Linked DNA regions of Homo sapiens: regions 1 and 2 are each linked to region 3. Evidence: promoter capture Hi-C in human tissues and cell types (Jung and others, 2019). All regions are on one chromosome and are shown on one strand. Each heading gives the region's core, a stretch centred on a gene start or on the middle of the fragment in contact. The rest is flanking DNA. Distances are from core to core; before and after follow the strand shown. Region 1 holds the start of NLE1 (notchless homolog 1). Region 2 holds the start of PEX12 (peroxisomal biogenesis factor 12). Region 3 holds the start of TMEM132E (transmembrane protein 132E).

Region 1 (2,700 bases), core at 171-2,670, 560 kb after region 3:
CCCGGCCTGAAATTCTTTATCTGCATCTCATAACAACCGTGGGAAGTAGATACTAATATTCCCACTGACAGTTTTCAAAAGCAGAGGCTCAGAACAACTAAGTAATTAGTTCAATGTCCTATTGCCAATGATTAATTCAGGTTCTTTACGTCCAAGATAGGATTAGCATATAGCATTATGCAGTGTTTCCCAAACTACCACACTACACTATATTTGTGTAAAAAGCTCCCAAAACGCCTGTTAAAAAATGTAGACTTTCTGCTTCATCCCAGAGTTTGGTTTAGTAAGGCTGGGATGGGGTCCAGGAACTGCAATTTTAAGGACCTCCCCTGTCCCCAGGGCAGCTCTTCAGTAAACACACTGGCTTAAAGGTTAAAAGCAAAGGCCGGGTGCGGTGGCTCACGCCAGTAATCCCCAGCACTTTGGAGGCCAAGGCGGGAGGATCACGAGGTCAAGAGATCGAGACCATCCTGGCCAACGTGGTGAAACCCAGTCCCCACTAAAAATACAAAAATTAGCTGGGTGTGGTGGCGCGCGCCTGTAGTCCCAGCTACTCGGGAGGCTGAGGCAGGAGAATCGCTTGAACCTGGGAGGCAGAGATTGCAGTGAGCAGAGATCACGCCACTACACTCCAGCTTGCCAGCCTGGCGACAAAGTGAGACTCCGTCTCAAAAAAAAAAAAAAAAAAGGTAAATAAATAAATAAATAAAAGCATGGGTATTCGGATAGTTTTGGGTTCCAATTCCAAATCTGCTACCTACTACATAGCATCGTGCAAAATACTGAGTCCCTCCGGGCCACGCTGTAAAATGGGGATATTAACGTGTCCCAGACTGGGGGACTGTGACAAAGAATCAATGAAATACAGCATCCGGTGCGTTCAAAGCTAGGCCCCTCTCCGCAGGTGGACCCCTTTGGTTGGCGTGTAAAGCGCTATGCCACTGATTCCATCTCTGACATAGGTGGGAGCTCACGCCAGGTGGGTCACCACAGTCCGTTAGCGGGGGACCATGAACCGCAGACCCTCGGTAATATGATTCCCCCACCGCATCCGCCCGGGGGTGGAGATGCGAGGCCGCCCTGGCCAGCCACTTACCTGGGCCAGTAGCGCGTTGCACACGAGCTGCAGCCTGTCCGGGGTGATGTCCACGGGCACGTCGAACGGGGAACCCAGCAGCTGCCCGCCCTCATCCTGGAACTGCACTAGCAACCGCTGCACATCGCGCGCCACCGCCTCGTCCTGCGCGAGCAAGTGGGGCGGGAGTCAGTCTGGTCGCCCGCCCAGAAGGGCCCCACTTCGCCTCTCTCAGGCCTCAGGGACCCGGGCCCTAGCGCCCCGCGGCGACGCCCCCCGCCCCCATCCACGCACACCCACCGGCACTGCTGCCGCCATCCTGCGTCCCCACGTGGAGGAGAAAGAGCCCGGCAGACAGAGCGCCGTCTCCGTGGTCGGGCGGGGTCGCCGCCGGCCACATCGCCCTCTGCTGTTGGGGAGGAGAAGCGTCCCGCTGCGCACGGCCTCAGGGATTAGAAATGGGCTTACCTGGTGCTCCTCCCGCCCCTCAACAGCCTTCACATTTATTTTTCGCCAGGGTCTTAGAGGACACAGTAAACTTTTGACTCTTCACAACAGGGATTCTTGCCCCATTTTAATTTAATTTCATTTTGAGACAGAGTTTCACTCCGTCGCCCAGACTGGAGGGCAGTGGTGCCACCACGGCTCACTGCAGTCTCGAACTTTCTGGCACAGCGATCCTCCCACCTCAGCCTCAGAGTAGCCTGGACTACAGGCACATGACACCCTGCCCGGTTATTTTTTTCTCATTTTTTGTAGAGACGAGGTCTCACTATGTTGCCCAGGCTGGTCTCAAACTCCTGAACTCAAGCAGCAAGTCCCCCACTCCCCAGCCTCAGTGTCCCAAAGTGCTGGGATTACAGGTGTGAGCCACCACGCCTAGCCTAGAAATTAGTATCCTTTTAAAAATGGATCAAGTCAAGGCTGGGCGTGGTGGCTGACACCTGTAATCCCAGCGCTTTGGAAGGCCCAGGCGAGCAGATCACTTGAGTCCAGGAGTTCGAGACCAGCCTGGCCAACATGGTGAAACCAGGTCTCTACTAAAAATACAAAAAAATTAACCAGCCGTGGTGGCATGCGCCTGTGGTCATAGCTACTGGAGAGGCTGAGGTGGTAGATTCTCTTGAACCTGGGAGGCAGAGGTTGCAGTGAGCCGAGCTCTCACCACTGCACTCCAGCCTGGATGACAGAGCAAGACTCTGTCTCAATAAATAAATAAATAAATAAATAAATAAATAAATAAATAAATAAATAAAATGGATCAACTCAATAATACTCGAGTACAAAAGCAAATCATTTCTACAATCATCAATGCTGTAAAGCAATAATAGTGATAATGACATCAACAAGTCAGGAATTGTTCTAAGTGCTTTCCCACATAACTCATTTAATTCTTACAACCCTTTTCTCCCCATATTACTGAGGAACTGAAGCAGACAGCAATGAACTTGAGCTCTTTTGCCTGAAACGAAGGATCTCCCTTGCCAACTCTCCTCTCTCTCCCTCCACTGCTCAGGCAGTCTCAAGCTCTGCCAAGTCATCCTCATGAACACAGCTTGAATCTGCTCTCCCCATCTCCACTGCCTCACTCTGGTCAGAGTCACCATCATCACCTGCCTGGACCG
Region 2 (2,700 bases), core at 1-2,500, 1.0 Mb after region 3:
GCTTCTCCAGCTTCACTTTCAGATAGGGAAGAAGAACCAGGAACATAATAGATTTCCAAAGCTGCTGCTTTGGGAGACCAGCACTAGCCAATCTCTGAGACTTGTGAGTGTCCCCCATTACAATTCTCTTTAAGCCGTAAAAGTTTTCAGAAAATGAGGCACTGGTTCTAGACAGATAATGTTGCTGGAGCAGAAGATCTAGCAGAGTAAAGATTTCATCAAACCACCTCCACAAGAAGCCATAGTGGGTGGGATTTGATTCTGCAAGAACCTAAAGCAAAATAAAGCAATAAGTGAAATTCATTCCATTACACAAGTTCTACACCTATTTACATTCCCCCTTTTCCTCTAAAGTCTACACAATTTGTTTTAAATAAGTCACTGTTGGACCCTGAAATGCTGGGTATTCAGTACAGGTCTCTACACATAACAGAGACTCAGTAACTCTTAAGTCATGGGATACAAGTTATTTGCAAATTGGCTATTTCAAACGCTAGGCTACCAAATAAGCACAAATTATTCGTTTGTTTTTTACCCAGTTGTCCCTAAAACCTTTCCAAGAATTAATACCTTACCTTGACCACATGCTGAAGAGCGGGTCTCACTGCTGTCATTAAACTGTCCTGTGCTACCACCTCAAAGATGGATGGCTGGTCATCGGCCACAGAAGCAGCTGTGAAGTGAGCCCCGTGCTCAGCCATAGTTTCCTGCGTGTACTGGCTTTCACTTTTCCCACAAACTCTCTCGTGAGCATGAACTTTTTCGGGAGGAAGAGTATCAGATGGGTGCTCAGTCTTAAAGGTAAACTTTCTGCATGATATCTGAAACTCGAAACTCAATCTTATGGGCAAAAATGAACTGGGAAAAAAAGACCTGGAGGCCGAGGGTAGTCTCAAGAAGGTTAAGAACAAAGTTAACTCGGACGTGGGTGGAAGTAGTATGTGGCGAGGGGGTAACTTGTCAAATGCTGCACGTCAGGGCAGAGCGTGACTGTGGGGGACAGGTATGGGGGAAGGAACGCAATCCTCTGGAGCTGCGAACCAGAAACGCCCCCTCCTCCCCAATCGTGAGAGCTCAAAAGCCAGCCGACTCTGAGGATTCAGTCGTGCCACTGTGAGCCCGGGACACAAGGGCTGACTCCAGCTGTTGGCTTTGAGTATCCCCGCCCGCGCCCGTCCTTGCTCGCTGACCCCAGGCGAGGCGCAAACAACCCACGACGCCACGTTTGAAGGGAGGTCTCCGCTTTATGACAGAAGCCGCACCCGGAAATGAAACCACCAGGACCTCTGGGATGCCTGGCGGAAGAGAGGCGCTCTAGTTCCGAATGCGGTCCGGAAACCAGAACTAGAGAACTCTATGACCCACCTGAGCTTCCGCTCCCGCCCCGCTGAAACAGAAGAGGGCCCTTGTGGGCTGGTTTTGGCTAGTTTGGTTTACTTTTCGTAGCTGGGTCTGCATGGTAGCCTCGCTGGAAAGCTACAGCTCTGAACCTCTCTCTGCGAGGTCTTTTTGACAAGCTGTTTGGGGCACCGCGCAGACGTCTGGCGCCGGGAGCCAGAGCTCGGGCCCGTTGCTGAGCCCTGTGTTCCTGCAGGCGATGAAGCTAGGGGCGGTGGGAGGAAGGGAATCTGGAGGTGGAAAGGACTTTGCTGTACGCGTGCGGCAGGGATGGTGGTTAATTTATATGTCTTAGCCTTCCAGAAATGATTTAAAGCGACATAGCAGGAGATAGGAGCCTTAGATTTATTGCCGCCAATTATAAGGAAAGATGATTGGATTGAGAAAGGTTCATGCTTGTTCCTCAGTACTTGAGACGGTTAATTTTCATCCAAGCTGGTAGTTTAACGTCTTCCAGGTTTTGGCTATATTCAAGCATAACTGCATGCACTTGCTATACTGGATGAAAATGGTCTCCATCCTTGAACACAGTTGTATATGTCACCACCAGCGATATGAATACAGTACTAACGCAGAGGGAGCTTTATGAATTGTAACTAGCATGCACTGGGGACACTTGACAGAAAGTTTCCTTTCATGCCGTTTTTATACCAAAATGAATGTGATTTACCTTAAGGTTTGTAAAGTGCTTTTATGTTATGTACAGCTTTGTCTCGCTGAAGTTGGCTGACACAGCCTTATTGAATTTGGATGAGAGTTCCACCTCTCCTCCCTTCCTCTGGGAAGTGCCACCTCTGGGCTAAATAGCTGGGAATAGAAGGTATTGTTTACTGCCCTAGAGGCCCTTATGTTATAAAAATAATTGGTTTGCATAATGAGAACCCTCAAAAACAAGGTTTGGATTTAGTTATTCCAATAGGAGAGAAAACCTTACAAATTGTCCTTAATTATAGTTATAAAAAGTGTTTTTTACTCTACCAAAAGACATTATATTGATATATGATTTTTACCTTACAGAGTTTTAAGACTAGACATAGTTTATCCATATGAAGCACCTGGATACATATTAGGTGCTTGTTTAATAGTAACTGTTATGTACAAGCTTTTCTTAAGTGAATAGCAAAAATACAAAGTTGAGAGGTAGCATCAACTAAATCAAGCAGGAAATTAAACATTTTTGTCACTTAGGGATCTTTGGTTACAAGCAACAGAAACAAACAGGCTAATTTAAACTAAAACGGAATTTATTAGAAGTGTATGGAGTAGCTCACAAAATAAGTAAAGCCAGCCCTGAAAGAACAG
Region 3 (2,700 bases), core at 65-2,564:
AGCAGCCCTCTACAGGCCCCAGTACCAAGCGAGGCAGCAACAGCCAGCAGCCAGGGAGGAGGAAGCCTTCCATGAAAAATGCAAGCACATTTTCCAAAAACAAAATGTCACCGTCCTAGATGAAAGGAAACTCTCAGGGTCAAGAGGGCTAGCATGGAGTCAGGCAGATGGAGGGCACGGTTTGAGTGCCCCAGCTGGCTTTGCTCTGACCTGGCCCCACACTCTCACTCCAGTTGAGTGCAGAGGTATGGAAGGGTGACCCTCAAGATCCATATCCTCCCCAGTAGGGATATGTCCATGGGATTGAAGACCCTGTCCCTCCAGAGCAGGGTAGGATTGAAATTCACCCTCTGGGGATTGGAGTTGATACCCAACGAAGCTATAAAATCATTGCCATGGATCCGATGCCTGGTTGACAGATGAGGTGTGAAGGTTGACTTGCCGGGTCTGATCTAGGTTGCACTCTAATGGAAAGGGCCTGATGGTGGGAACAGATATCACTCCAGCCACCCCTCCCGCTAGTCAGCAGGTGCCTGGGTGAGTATGCAAGAGGGGCAGTTCCCCACCCCCACCTCATGCCTCTTTAAAGGCTTGCTAAACAACCTGTAGGAAAGCACTGTCCCCTCCTCTTCTCCGTCTTCCTTCCCCAGCAACAGAATAAATAGGTTTCCCACAGCTGCGCCCCGGACCCATCCCGCACGAAGCTGAGCCCCAGAGCCCCCGCGGCCCGAGAGGAGCTGGGCACAGCAGCGAGGCTGATTCCCAGCCAGTGCCCAGCGAACTCTGGGGGTGGGGGTAGGGTGCCCCCTACCCGCGCCTCTGGAAGAGCGGCTGCAAAACACCTCCGGCGCCCGGTGGGGAGCGTGCATCCTTTGAAAAGGGACATCAGTGACTGCGGTGGCGTCTACCCTGGAGAAACGCAGCTGAGGGAGGTGGAGGCTCCTCCCGCCGCAGCTGGCCGGCCCCATTCGGGTCCCAGCGCTAGCCGGCGTTGGGAAGGAAAAATCAAACATAAAATAGGGGCGAGCGGAATCGCGAGGTCGGCCCTTGGCCCGAGTCTCATTAAGGAGCCGCGCGCGCCGCCAGGCTAGGAATGCGGAATGGACACGTGGACAGAGGAGGGGGAGCTAGGAGTCGGGGAGTCTCCGTGGCGCGCGAGCTGTGGGCCGCGCGCTCGGGGGCCACGTGACCACGGGGAATCTGGGAGGGGTGGGAGTGAGCGCGCCAAGCTCGGCGCCCGCTTCTGCCCGGGTGGGCGCTGAATCCCGGACGGAGGAGGAGGGCGGGCGAGCGCGAGTGTGTGTGTCTCTCTCGAGTCATTTACGGCGGAGCAGCCGGCGCGAGCGCCGAGGAGGCGGCGACGGCGGCGGCGGCTGCTTCGTGCAACTGTGGCTTCCCCCACCTCCTCTTCCTTTTTGCTCCTCGATTCTTCTTCTTCCCCCACACACGTCCATGGGGAGCCGGCTCCCCTGCCAGCACCTCCTCTCCTCTCGGCCCCGTAGGCACCAGCTGCCGCTTCCCTGGCCGCAAGCTGCGCAGGTGCCGGCTGCCCTGGCCCCTGGCGCCGCGCCCGCGTCTCACCGCCCGCAGCCCGGACTGGCGCGGCGATCCGCTCGCCCAAACTGACTCGGAGGGAGCGGGAGCCGATGCCCGGCAGCATCGAGACAGCGGGCGAACGGGCGTCCGGGGACAGGGTGGGGGCGGCGGGGAGGAGGCGTCGGAGACTCTGAACCCCAGAAAAGTTCAAGGTTTGTGCAGGTTCCCCCAGGGAAGGCGAGGAGCGAGGCGGGGCAGCGCGCCTCTCTGCCGAGACAGCGAGACCTTAGCGGGGTGGCCCGGAGCTGCCGTGAGCTGCAGGAGCCCCTCTGCATCTTACAGCGTTTATGGTCATCAAGCTGGAGTCGACGTCCTGGGCAGGAAGGGCTCGGGGCAGGGCGCATTAGCCGGCTTTCTCGCTCCCTCGCTTCTCCAAGCCCCATCTACATGGGGCAGCCCGTTCTGGCCGCGCCACCCTTGCCCCAGCCGCCGAGCGGCTGCCTGGGCAGGAGGCGCTGAGCCGGCCTGTGTGGAGCCTGGGCCCTGATCCAGACTGGAGAAAGCGCGCTGGAGCGGAGGAGCGAGCCTTGCGAGGGGACAAACATCTGGCCGCCCGCCTCGGGCATCCGGTCTGGGCGTCGCCTAGGGTGGTGGCGACCGGCGTCGCCAGTTTCAGCACCGCACGGAAACTTTTCCTTCTCCAGATGGATTAAAGTTGTCTGGATTTTCTCTTTCTTTGAGAAAGACAGCATTCATTTGCACCTGACCTGGGATTTTTATGCTGGGCTGCTGCAGGGGCTTGGAGGAAGAAAGCGGCGCTATCCATGTGCGGTTACTACCGAAACCGAGGAAACTGGGGATTGCGTTGGAAGTCGGCACCCTCGAGTGAGTTCGGATTCGAGCTGGGCCGTGAGGCCGGGAGATTCAGCACTGGGCTCTAGGTAGCCCCCGGGACGCCCGCGGCCACCGGGCTCCGGACTGCACGTGCAGCTCCCCCCGCGCCTCGCAGATCCTGCAGGGGGCACCAGCTGGGGGAGGTGGAGGCTCCTCCCGCCCGGAGCTGCGCCCCCACCGGCTCCGAGGGTGTAGCCGCCAGCGCCTGGGACGCCCCCTCCCCGCAAAGTGTCCCCGAATTGCACTCTCTGGTCCCGGAGCTGCATCTGA

The links. The method cuts DNA at HindIII sites, captures the fragments that hold promoters and counts their contacts. A contact is called where the count stands out against the background at its distance.
Region 1: a contact is called between the fragment with the promoter of NLE1 here and the fragment with the promoter of TMEM132E in region 3, in 2 of the 25 tissues and cell types used here (IMR-90 fibroblasts and spleen).
Region 2: the fragment with the promoter of PEX12 here is called in contact with the fragment with the promoter of TMEM132E in region 3 in 2 of the 25 tissues and cell types used here (IMR-90 fibroblasts and dorsolateral prefrontal cortex).

What each region holds. Positions count from the first base shown.
Region 1 is chr17:35,140,883-35,143,582 of GRCh38, forward strand. NLE1 (notchless homolog 1) reads right to left here and starts at 1,421. Exons shown (of 13, transcript NM_018096.5): 1 at 1,376-1,421; 2 at 1,097-1,240. The coding sequence starts at 1,393. RefSeq lists an enhancer at 852-1,729. The HindIII fragment of the contact is 6,679 bases long and covers 1-2,700 here.
Region 2 is chr17:35,577,321-35,580,020 of GRCh38, forward strand. PEX12 (peroxisomal biogenesis factor 12) reads right to left here and starts at 1,251. Exons shown (of 3, transcript NM_000286.3): 1 at 576-1,251; 2 at 1-271. The coding sequence starts at 701. RefSeq lists an enhancer at 515-1,330. The HindIII fragment of the contact is 4,748 bases long and covers 1-2,700 here.
Region 3 is chr17:34,578,268-34,580,967 of GRCh38, forward strand. It overlaps TMEM132E (transmembrane protein 132E), which reads left to right and starts at 1,315. Exons shown (of 9, transcript NM_001304438.2): 1 at 1,315-2,700. TMEM132E-DT (TMEM132E divergent transcript) reads right to left here and starts at 1,102. Exons shown (of 2, transcript NR_160787.1): 1 at 604-1,102. RefSeq lists enhancers at 267-803, 804-1,339. The HindIII fragment of the contact is 28,166 bases long and covers 1-2,700 here.